Regions from separate parts of the Homo sapiens genome. Here region 2 is linked to region 1. The links are contacts of gene promoters, found by promoter capture Hi-C in human tissues and cell types (Jung and others, 2019). All regions are on one chromosome and are shown on one strand. Each heading gives the region's core, a stretch centred on a gene start or on the middle of the fragment in contact. The rest is flanking DNA. Distances are from core to core; before and after follow the strand shown.

Region 1 (4,832 bases), core at 1,059-3,558:
ATGGGGTCTGACCAACTGCACCCACTCCCTAATAAATTCATTCTCCTTGGGAGCCTCCTTACTCCTCTTTGTTGGGAAATATTTTTAGCTCTTGGCGGGCTCAACAGCAGCCGCGCAGTCACCCCCTTATCCTCCACCCTCGGCAGGTGCGTCCCACGGCGGGACGGTGATGGGAGGTGGAGGGGGCGACCCGTGGGGGCGGGGCCTAGGCCTCTCCAGCCCCTTTCCTGGCGTCACCCTCCACGCCTCTCTTCCCAGTGCCGTGTCCATACTAGGTCAGCGGCCAGCCTCGCTGGCCGGGGGCGGGGCGTCTGCCTGGGTGGGGCCCACCGGGGCTGGGAGCCGGGACTTGGGCTGAGGCTTCCCGGACCACGGAGGATCCGCGCTGTCGAGGGCAGGACCCAGGAGGGGGAGGAAGCAGAGGATGCTCGGCGCCTTCTTGGCTCCGCCCTTAGCCCCGCCCTACTGCGGCGTTTAAGGGTCTCTTAGCAGGTGGCTACACTGGATCCAAAGTCGGGGGAGTGTTACGGCAGGGAACACTCGCAGACCGCCTAGTCTAGGCCCTCATTATGGGGAAACTGAGGAACAGAAAGGTCCTGTTTCTAAGTCTTACATTACCAAGACTGAGGTGCGGGGGCGGTCCTGGATCCCCCGCCCCAAGGCTGGGAGGGGCACGCCTCGGAAGGGAGGTTTGGGGTCGGTGGTTTCACAGTGAGTGTGTCTGAAGCCAAATGGTCGGAAACCGTTACCCGCTCTCCTAGGCCCGGCTAGTGGGGACCCCAACCGCCTGCGGCTGCCCCTCCCAAGTTCCTCCCTGTTGGCCAGGCATCCAGGTCTCCAGTCTCCGAGCTGCGGAGAACCCACCGCCACATGCGGCTGCCCCTTTCCATTCGACCCTGTGGGGAGCCAGGCTTCCGGGGCCCCGTTCCTCCTGTGTGAACTGGGCCCCCCGCCCCCATTCCCAGACATCAAGGCCGCGTCTCCAGATAGCCACGATTTCATTCCTCGCTCCCCACAGGTCCCTCTCCCCAAAATATTCCCATCTTGTCCTAGCCCATCCCCCAGACTATCTCAAGGACCAGCTGTCCCCACGCCCCCGACCTCCACTAGGCCTGTGCCACCCGCTGCCTGCAGGAAGACGCCCGGTCCCGGGCCGGGTTAGCCCCATGGGAACGGTTTGTCTCGAAAACAGGAACCCGAGCTGGGGGCTGGGCGGGGCGCCCCTTCCCCACCGCAGTCCGCTTCCTGCCCCTCCCGGCTTCCTCCGCCCGACACCCAGGCAGGGCGGGGGGCACTGGGGCGTCCGCGGTTGGGGGAGGGGCTCTTCGTTTCGGTCCCCCCTCCGCGTCCCGGGCGGCGGGGCCTCCGGTCGCCCGCCCTCGGGGCAGCTAGTGGCGCAGCCCCCCGCCCGCGGCCCTGGCCTCCCGGGCGGCGCGGCAGGGGAGGGGTTAAGCTGCCGCAGGGACCGCCGCGTGCGGGGCGAGAGGGAGCCCCCGGTGGGGGTGGCGCAGCCGGCGGTGCGGAGCTCCGCGCAGGGGCGGAGGGGGGAGGGGGCAGCCTGGCGCGGGGGCGGGGGCGGGGCGGCGGGGAGCGGGGCCGCGGCGTGGAGAGCGGGCGGGAGCCGCAGCCGCAGCGAGGCCGGCGGGCGGGAGCGCACGGAGGTGGGGTCGGCCAGGCCGGTGCGGGCTCCTTGCGGCAGGTCCCAAGAGTGAGTGGGCGAGCGCGGGCGGGGCGCCAGGCGAAGGAGGGCGCGGCCCCCAGCGACTCCCCCCCCGCCCAGGGCGGCGCGGGCGGGCTGGGGGCGGCGAGCGGGTGGGGAGTCTGCGGCCCGGGTCTGGGAGAGGGGGCAGCGGCCACGAGAGCTAAGGCGCGCTGGATCCCCGGAGGGCGGAGGACCTCCACGGTGCACCCAGCTTTTCCCAGCCACCTTCCAGCGGGGCCCTCCCCCGCGTACCCCCATTTGGCAGATGAGAAAATTGAGGCTCCCAGAGGCCAAGTGATTCTCAAGGTCACACGAGGAAGCGGTAGAGCCAGGCGGGGACGGCTCTGGGTGGCTCTTAGGAAAAGTCCGCCTGAGAACTCCGTACAGGAGCTCCCCTGTCCTCCAGCCTGGGGGAGTGAGTATGTGTAGGGCCGGGGTACCTTTCCGTGGGGCAAGGCTCTGCCAAAATCTGGGAGTGAGGGGAGTCAGGGAGCTGGGGCCGCAGGGCGGGCCCTGCACCGCAAATGGGAGGGGGGCGACGGAATGGGCGTGCGCACCCATGGGGGTGTGTGCATGTGTGTGGGAGTGTACATGCGTGGAGAGGCACTGCCTTGCGTGTGTGCACACGTGTGAGGATGTCAGCGCCTGTGTGGCCGCGGGACTCAAGGCTGGCCTGGCTCAAGTGAACAGCACGTCCAGGAGGCGACCTCGTCCGCGGGTTTGCATTCTGGGGTGGACGAGCTGGGTATGTGTGCCTGAGGGTTTCTTCGTGCAGGTGTGCACAGGGTGTGGGTGCCATTGTGTGTGAGAGACGGAGGATGGGAGGCCGGTGCCTGTGGCCCGGTGCGTGTAAGTGCGGACGCCTGCACCTCCACTTAGGTCCCCGGCCTCCGACGAATAACTTGGGTGTGGAGTGTTTGCCCCTGCCAGGGTGCGTATGACCCCGCCAGTGACCGGAGTTGCTAATGGTGTCATGCACCCACCGGCCACCCTTGGCGCGAGCGCCCCCCTCTGGACACCCTGCTCCGTGCGCGCTCACAGTTCGCCTGTGCGGGGCCGGGGCCAGGGTCAGGAGCCGGGGATAGGGAGGAAGAGGGCCTGTGGACAAGCTGAGCCGGGACCCCTGGGACCTTTGCGGAGGTGGCCTGGGAGCGCTCAGTTCCCAGGCTCAGGCTTCCCGCTGACGCCTCCTGGCCGCAGCGGGCTCCCCCCGCCCCAGGAATGTTCCTCTCCCATCCAGTCCGCCTCCCCTAGGGCAGGCCCCCTGGGGGCTGCCGCAGCCCCGCCTCGCCTTCCTGGGCTCCCGGGAGGGGGCGAGGCGGGCAGGACGCCTGGGTTCTCTCCCCCCACCTCCCATACCAGGGAGAAATTCCTCCGAGGTCCCCTCAGGCTCTGGGTTCCCAAAATAACCCTGCGGGGGAAGGGAGGCTGTGGAGGGAGGGAAGCGGGAGGGGCGCAGAGCCGAGCTGCGGGGTGCTGCAGGTGCCTCTGGGGAGAGGGCGCGAGGAGAAGGCGCCCTGCGGGGGGCTGGGCGCCAGCCAGTCCTGGGATCTTGGTTCGTCCCCATCCTCGTGAAGCCCCTCGGCCTTCCCGCGACTCCGAGGGTGGGCCGGAAGCCTCTCTGCGGGTCCGTTTCCCAACTGGCGGGTTGCACCATCCCGGGCCAGACCGTTTAACCCCGGGAGTGGCCGCGGGGGACAACTCCGCCCCTGTCCAGCAGGGGGCGTGCCCGCCCCGCCCCGTTTCTGCCCGCGGGGCCGCTCCCCCGCCCGCGACTCCGCAGACTCCCGCTCTGCCTCTCCCGGGACAGGGGTTCGGTCCGAGCCCGGTGGGAGGCTCCCGGAGCGCAGCCTGGGCCCAGCCCACCCCGCGCCGGCGGCCATGGCAGGCACCCTGGACCTGGACAAGGGCTGCACGGTGGAGGAGCTGCTCCGCGGGTGCATCGAAGCCTTCGGTGAGTGGCTCGGGAGGGCACACGGAGCCTGAGCCTAGCCCCGAGTCTGAGCCCGGGTCCCTGCCTCCCAGGCACAGTCCAGGGCACAGCCCTGACCCGGACCCACCCTGCTCCGCAGCGTGCAGTCTCTTTAACGAAAGCCTCCTCCGCAACGCAGGGCAGAGAGATGCACGCCCTTCAGACAGATGAGGTTTCCCTTCTCTAGCCTTCCCCAGCGGCGGCGAAGGGAGGGCCGGGTCCCGGACTCTGACACTTGAGGGGCATTATCTGTCTCCCGGGGAATCCGGAGGAACTCGCTATCTCCGGCCTGGGAGCTGTTTCCGGCTAATGGGGGGCGGCTTATCTGGTGAAGGGGTGCCCCTTCCCCCCAAGCGCTCAGGAAATGACCTCTGGATTCTTGACCCCGGGGAACCCAGGCTCCTTCCGCCCCAGCTGGTTCCCCTCCGGACGATGGGCGGCTCGGGCGCTCCCCTCCTCCAGTCCTCAGGGCGTGCCTATCTCTCGCCCACCACACCTTTCCTCTCTAATTTGCCTCCTGCTCTCGGAGTCCTGGGCAAGCAGGAGGTGGGCGGGGTCGAGCGTGCACCCGAAGGACCGATACCTGGCGGGTTGCGGGGTGAGGATGAGGCATGGTAGCTGCGGACCCAGCTCAGCCACCTGTCTTTGACCCTTCGGAGTCAGATGACTCCGGGAAGGTGCGGGACCCGCAGCTGGTGCGCATGTTCCTCATGATGCACCCCTGGTACATCCCCTCCTCTCAGCTGGCGGCCAAGCTGCTCCACATATATCCTTCGCCGGCCTTGCCAAGGCCCCCGCCGTCGGAGCCCATGCGCAGCCCCTCTGCCCAGCCCAGGTGCAGAATGAGCCTCGCTCCTAAGTATAGGCCACTCCTTATCCCAGAGCTCAGGCGTCGTCCCAGCCTCCAACTAGGGCCTAGGCTCTGCCCCCTCCTTGCTCCTAGCGACTCGGTCCTGTCCCCAGGCTCTGTCCCCAGCCGAGGCCTTGCCCTCCTTCTCCCTAGAGTCTGGGGCCTGCCCCTGCTTCAGGCTTGGGTGCGCCCCGTGCATCTCTCTCTCCCAGAGCCCAGGCTTTGCTTTCAGCCTCCCTCAGCACCTAGTCCTCCACCCCCACCTCCAACCCCTCCCAGAGCTCAAGCCTCACCCCCAGCATCTCCGC
Region 2 (6,969 bases), core at 2,552-5,051, 47 kb after region 1:
AGGGCCTGGCCTGGGCGGTGCCGGTGGAAATGGAGGGATGATAAGGATTTCTAGGAGTTTAGTTTTGTTTTTAGGGTTTTAGAAGGTGGAACCAGTAGGACCCGGTGATTGGCCTGACAAAAGGAGCAGGTGCTTTCTGGGTGCCTAACTTGATCAGGGAATTTGGTGGGGTGAGGAGAGGGTTATGAGGCCCACCCTAGACATATTGAATGTGAGAAGCCCATGAGACACTCAGAGACAGCGGCTCTAAAGACAGATGGGTACATAGGTCAAGAGCACAGGAGAGAGGTTTGTATCAGAAACACTGAAAGGTTCTCATCACAGCGGTATTTAGTAAGGCGTATCTGTTACCTCTGCCAAGAGGGTCAGGCTGGGGATGGGTAGGGAGACTGACCAAGAGGAAGCTATTGCAGGAAACCAGGCACAAGGAGTGAGGCCAGAGGCTACGATGACCTAGGATTGCAGTGGAGAAGGGCAAAAGTGATTCTGTGCTCCTGGGTGTGTTTTCTTCTCTGTACAGAGTCGATAGATAACACCGAGCTCTGTGTTGCAGTGAGGCTGATGTGTGATATTGCATGTGAGGGTCAGTACGGTGCCCAGCACATGGCTAACTAATGGAATCTCTGGAACCTATGAGGGCAGTGTGGGGCATGTAGTGGGAGCTCAGGCAGCACTGGTTGAAAGCAGGGGCTTTGCTAAGCACAGGGGAATAAGCACTTGGTTGTAGGAGTGGAGGTGTCGAGAATGGCTTCAGTGGTGGAGTTTAGATGTCAGAGAGTTGGACGAGCAATTGCACTGCTGGGTGGACACATGGTGATACAGGACTGGTACTCAGGGAGGAGGCCGGGACTACCCATGGTTTGGGAGTCTCTGAGCACGAAAATGAGCCATCACTGAGGAGAGCGAGGAGAAGTAAGAGGAATGTGGAGGGCAGGGGCCAACCCTGAAGGGGACTGAGGTGGCAGGTGAGGGGCATAGGTGAATCAGCAGAAAGCAAAGAGCAGCAGAGGAAGAGAGATATGTGAGTTTCTAGGTGCTGTCTCTCAAAAGCCAGAAACAAACCAAGCCTGGTTGTTTCACCTTCCTGAGCATAGCATGACGTACATTTCTGGCAGGTGGAAATACTTTTTGAAATACCTACCATGTTGGATTATCTAGAAATCACCATGCCTCCTTATTTGCACAGGTGCTGGTGAGACAATTGTGCTGACTGACCAGGGTCTTAGCATACTGGGACCAAAGAAATCCTGGCACAGCAGTCTTCACGAGAGCCAAAGGGTTTCCTGAGGGCCCCTTTATTAGCCAGCTCCCCCCATAAATGAAATGTGATTCAGTTTACTTAAGAAAACTATTGCTGGGCACTGTGGCTCATGCCTGTAATCCCAGCACTTTGGGAGGCCGAGGCGGGCAGATCACCTGAGGTTGGGAGTTCGAGACTAGCCTGACTAACATGGAGAAACCCCATCTCTACTGAAAATACAAAAAGTAGCCGGGTGTGGTAGCGCATGCCGGAGGCTGAGGCAGGAGAATCACTTGAACCCGGGAGGTGGAGGTTGCGGTGAGCTGAGATCGCACCATTTCACTCCAGCCTGGGCAACAAGAGCAAGACTCCATCTCAAAAAAAAAAAAAAAAAAAAAAGAAAACTATTAGACATGTATCTTTTAGGTGATGCAGCTGTCAGGTAGAAGCAGCTCTGTGTTGTAGAGGAGTGTGTTTGTAACACATGTTGACATGGAAAGACTGTGTATGTAGGTTTAGGAAATGGGAGATAAAGAGCTGTGTTCATCGCTGGCTGTATGGCTTTAGCCACTGGAGTCACTGTGGGGTGGTGGTGTGTGTGTCTAGTGTTATGTAGTAGATTACTGTGTAGGTATTGGTGCTTGCATTCAGCCTGTGTATGTGCGTGGATTATGGGAGTGGTATAAGGTATGACAAATGACTATGTTTGTTTTCAGAGTATAGCTACCTCTCTATGAGCGAATGAACAGATATCACCAAATGGGGTTGGAGGTAGGAGGAGATAATGTGTGCATGCGTGAGTGTGAACTGGATAGCTGTGTGTACATAAGTGTGTATCCTGGGGCCTGCATATGCAAGTATGTGTTTCCCCACTGGGTTTGTGTGTTTGTAGATTGTGCTGTTTTCCCCCTCCTGCCTATTGCTTCATCTAAAGGCTCCCAGGAGGTGGGCACATGGCAAATGTTTGGAGCTGGGGGCACCTCCATCCTCTTACAAAGAAGATCAGAGCCCAACCTGCTTGAGGAGTTGTAGCTTAGTTGAAGGAATTGTCTCCATCTTCTCGTTGTTCCATCTTCTCCCTTGACCCATTTGGTGAGCTCCAAGGCCAGATCCAGGCAGGGCCCTAATAGGTGAGGTCTGCCTATCCAAAGGATGTGGCATGGTCTAGGTCTGGGCCCAGTGTGGCCCACTGAATTTGGACTCTCTTCCCCCACTGGCATGGCCATCCAGCCTGGGGGCCCTTGGCCTCATCCAGATGTTAAGAAGACATTTGTCCTAGAATCAGAATCAGAGTCAGAAGAGGCCTCAGAAACTATCCAGTCCACCCCTCTCATTTTGCAGAAGAGGCAGTAGGGACTCAGAGAGGTTAAGTGAATAGGATGAAAGTCACACAGTGCTGTGTGGCAGAATCATGTTTGTTCTCTCTGTGTCTTGATGTCTTTTCACCCCTGGGAGGGTCAGGGGCCGTAGGTGGTTGGGTCCTGTGTGCAGGGGCTTTATATGTGAATTGTGTGAGACAGTGTGTGTCACTGGATTGCTAAGTGCCTATGTGTGTCAGTGTGTCACTGAGCATGAGTGTGTCTCTAGTGAACCCTGTGAGACAATTAGTGGTGTGAGTGTGTCCCCATCTGTCTGTGAGATGCAATGGAATGCAGGGTAGGAGCCTCTCTGGGGAAGTTGAGAAGCCTGACTGCCACTCCTGGCCCTGCCTCAGATTCTCTGTGTGACCTTGAGTGGTTACTTCCCTGTCCTGGGCCTCGGTTTCCTGAAATGTTACTTGAGGGTTGGGTGTGATGGGTACTGGCTGACTGTGTGTGAGGTTCTGACTCAGGGAGCAGCTCTGTGTCTGCCTCATCCCCAACATAGCTGTTTCTTGAGATTTGGGCCTTCCACATTGGGTGACTCATGTCAGGGCCTGGGTGGGCTTGGACTCCTCTCTCCCCTTGGAGCCCCTGTCCGTGGTACCTTTGCTAACAGCCCTCCTTTTTCTTCTCTCTCTGCCTCCGTCTTCTCCGAACCTCGCTGGCTGCAGAGGAGCACCCCATGGAAGGTGAGTGAAGCCTCTCTGTCACTGGGGTAGTGGATCTGTTGCCATGGGGATCCTACATGAGGGACTGTCGTTGGCTACCCAAGGACTCCCTTTCCTGCCATGTTTAGGGCCTCTCCGGAGAAGGATGTCTGGGGTCCTCCCTTGGCTGCCTTGCCCCACTCTCTTGCGTCCCCTCTTCATGAGTTTCGGGGGAGCTGCTGACTGGCCTTTCTTCTTCCTTTCCCTCTCCACGCTGGAGAGGGAAAGGGAAACTTAGGGAAGAGATGAGCGGTGGGGGTGGAGGGATGGGGCTGACAGGATTCCGAAGTGCCCAGAAGTGAGTGGGTAGACAACGTTTAGCCCAGCCTAAGTTAGGAAGCTTAGAAAGGCAATTTTCCAGATGCTGGGGCAGGCTGGGGTGGGCTGTTGCCCCAGAAACCTGTGCTTGGGGAAAATCTGCCCTGGAATCTGGTGCCACTGTGCAGGGCTCAGGGGACTGGAGGGTGGTGGAGTGCACTGGCAGAGTAGGGGGTTGGAGGTGTATAGTGGGAGCAGCTTCTCTGCCCCACTGTGACCAGCACTTGCCACTTGCGGCAGGCCCCTAGCTGCTGCCCCACAGGTTGCTAGGTAGGGGTGGGCTGCTTCTTCCTTCATCCAGGTCGGAGGGCAAGGGTGGGGTGTGTGCCTCTCTCTCAGGTCTCTCTGTATGTTCTTTCTTTATCTCCTGTTTTGTTGGCCTCTTCTCCCTCTCCAGTTTCTGTCTTTACCTCCTTTTCTCCAAGACTCTGTCCCTGGACCATGTGTCTCTCCTTCCCCAGGCTCTCTCTGGGTTTCTGTCATTCTCTGAATCTTTCTCTTGCAATTTGGCTTTCCCTGTTTCTTCTCCTCCTCTGGGATGGACTGAGAGCAGGAAGAAGGTAGTCCTGGCTTGAAGGCTGTGTTGAAGATGAGCTCACATAGCTACCATGAAGAAGGCAGCAGAGCAGGCATGAGGTGGCATCCCAGTCCCTTCTCCTGGGAAGGTGGAGTGGGAGGGCAAGGGCGTCCCTGGGGAGGAGGAGAGGAAAGTGCCAGGGATGCAGTAGTCCTGGGAAAGAAAGGCAGCAAGAGGCTCTTGGCCTGAGTGTGGGGCTGGAACCCATTTTTCCTCGTGATGTCCATGGTCTGACTTGTCTCTCTTGGATGTCTCTTTTCCCTGGGGGTCCTCAGGTCCCCAGGGCCCAGCAGGCAGGTGTGTGTGTGTGTGTGTGTGTGTGTGTGTGTGTGTATGTATGTATGTGTGGGTATGTATGTCTGCATACACATACATTTATACAACTCTGCTGGTCTGTGTGTCTGTGTGCACGCCTGAGGATATATGCTGTGTACACGTAACATGGTTTTGTGTCTGAGTGCATGGGTGTGCTGTGCGCCTCCATCGATGCATATGTGGTGTGGCCCACATTTCTGTATGCCTATGTAGAGCATCAGCATCTTTGTGTGTCTGCATCTGTGTTTGCATCTCCGTGTGTCAGTGTTTACCTCTGCGTGTGTGTCACAGAGAGAGTCTGCGTGTCTGGGTGGACGCAGCCTTCTGAGGGCTGGAGATAAGATTTAGTGTTGATGTGACTTTTACTTGCTCTTGATGTCATGTCTCCTCCGGAACAAAGGGTGAGATGGAGGGAGGAAGAGAGAAAGGGAAAAAAGGGTGGAGGAGAGAAAAAAGGAGGGAGCAGAGAGATGGAGGAAGGAGAGGGGGTAAGTGAAGGGTGGGAAGAGAAAGACTCAAGCCTCAAGCTGTAGGGGGTGGGGCAGGAACGGGGAACAGCTTGGCCAAAAGAAGAAAGGCAGGGGGGCACTTGGGAAGAAGGAGTCTGGTGGGAGTAGGGAAGAGGAAAGGGGCTGATAGACAGGAACAAGAAGGGAAGCTGGGCTTTGGGGACCCATGGGGAAGGAGGCCTGTGGACGCCACCTCGCCATTTCTTTGGGTGGCATGGTGGTCTGCTGGTTTAGATGTGGCACTGTGGATGCCTGCATGTCAGTGGCTGTGCAGGGCTGTGTATTGGAGGCTGTGTGTGTGTGTGTGCGCGTGTGTGTATACACACCTAGGAGTCTGACACATCTCTGTGTCACTCTGAGACATGTCTGTGTGCCTGCTTGTGTGTCTCTTAATTTGGTCACCTATCACCATCTTTATTTCGATGGTGGTTCTCTCTGGGGTTTCAGTAGGAGAGTTAGGGGATGAGACTGAAGATGGGGAGGTGGGTTTAGCAGGTGGTGGTTCCACGTGGCTGGGCTGGCGGCCTCCTCTGTGGCACTGTGCTCTGGACCCTGCAGCCCTCCTTATATCTCTAAGGAGTCCTCTGTACCTTCGCCTTCTTCCCACTTGACACTGTGCCTGAGGCCTAGCTTTCTCCAGGAACCCCAAGATCCTGCTCTGCACCCCTGCCGAACACCTCCTTTTTCCTCCCAGCCTCTAGTGGCAGGGCAAAGAGACCCAGAAGTAGCCAGATAAAGTGCCCTAGGAAGGGACCCATGGCAATGCCATCCATCATTGCCAGTCTCTTTTCCAGCAGTGGGAGGAGGGGCTGATGCCACAGGTGGATGTGGGGAAGTGAATACCCCAGTGGGGCTGGGGGCCAGGAGGAGGGAGCAGAGATTTCAGATTAGTGGGGAGACAGACTTTAGGGAGAAAACCCTGGGGCCAGCTGGGACTGAGCCAGGGGTAGACAGGAAGGGAACCAGCCTCCCCTTCACCAAGATGGCTGGTGCTGTCACGCCTGAGGGAGCTGAGCAGCTGGTTGCCGTGGTGACAGAGGGAGACTGCCGAATGCTAACGAGGCTGGCGAGGAGCTGGGCAGTGGAAGGGTCTGGGAGAGGGAGATGTGGCTTCCTCCAGCAGCAGTCAGGCCTGTGGGAGACAGAGGGTGGGTTCACAGGGCACCTGGCTCCTGGGCTGGGGGTGGGCAGAGACCTGGATTCTCAAGGGTGGGATCCTGAGAGCAAGGCTGCTTCTGACCGGGAGAGTCGGATGTGGGTTGAGGGCTCTGGGTCTGGGTCCTGGGTTTAGGGGGTTTGGAAGGAGATGCTGGTAGTTTTTGGGGAAAGGGTTGGTGGCAGAGTAGGAGGGTATTCAGAGTAAGGAATGAGGAGACTCGGTTCAAATGCTTGGGTCCTTACCTGTGTGATGGATAAAAACCTACATCCTCCCAAGAGCTGTTCAGTCCTGAGGCTGCCCTCAGCGGCTGTGGCCTCCTCCTCCAAGTGGCCTCAGACTCAGAGGTGGGGAGAAACCAGTGCCACCCTAGAGACATGGGGCAAAGAGGGCAATGTGAACCATCTGCCACGGGGTCCAGGCCTTTGGCCCCTGGCCATGTCCTTCCTGTCCTCCTCACTGCCTTTCCTCTTAGAATCCAGGCATCCTGGCCCCCAGCTTCGTCTCAGAAATACTTGTAACTCTTTAACCTTGCTACTTCCATCCTGGCCCCAGCTTTCTATCCCTAGGGTTCACATCTCATTGCCACAGCAGTGGGGCTGGTTTCCAAGGGTGACAGTGGCACTGCAGGGCTGTTCCCCTTCCTACCCTCTTGGCCAGACACCACAGGGGAGTGAGTGGGGCTGGGGGGGCTCTGAGGTTTGGTGGAGCTGGCTGGCCATCTCAGGAAGCCCTGGGGTCTCAGCCCAGCTGTGGGGCCTGGTGCTGCCAGCCTCTCTAGGAGAG

What was found. The method cuts DNA at HindIII sites, captures the fragments that hold promoters and counts their contacts. A contact is called where the count stands out against the background at its distance.
Region 2: a contact is called between a fragment that was not itself captured here and the fragment with the promoter of RASGRP2 in region 1, in 1 of the 25 tissues and cell types used here (lymphoblastoid cells).

Annotation. Positions count from the first base shown.
Region 1 is chr11:64,741,618-64,746,449 of GRCh38, reverse strand. It overlaps RASGRP2 (RAS guanyl releasing protein 2), which reads left to right and starts at 2,308. Exons shown (of 17, transcript NM_001098671.2): 1 at 2,308-2,447; 2 at 3,513-3,656; 3 at 4,338-4,440. The coding sequence starts at 3,584. PYGM (glycogen phosphorylase, muscle associated) reads left to right here. Exons shown (of 20, transcript NM_005609.4): 20 at 1-52. RefSeq lists silencers at 1,192-1,391, 1,642-1,751, 2,742-2,791, 2,952-3,001, 3,312-3,641 and 1 more. The HindIII fragment of the contact is 18,641 bases long and covers 1-4,832 here.
Region 2 is chr11:64,694,096-64,701,064 of GRCh38, reverse strand. It overlaps NRXN2 (neurexin 2), which reads left to right. Exons shown (of 23, transcript NM_015080.4): 3 at 3,273-3,290. Among named protein-coding and RNA genes, the nearest start is that of NRXN2, 26 kb to the left of the region's middle. The HindIII fragment of the contact is 4,113 bases long and covers 1,745-5,857 here.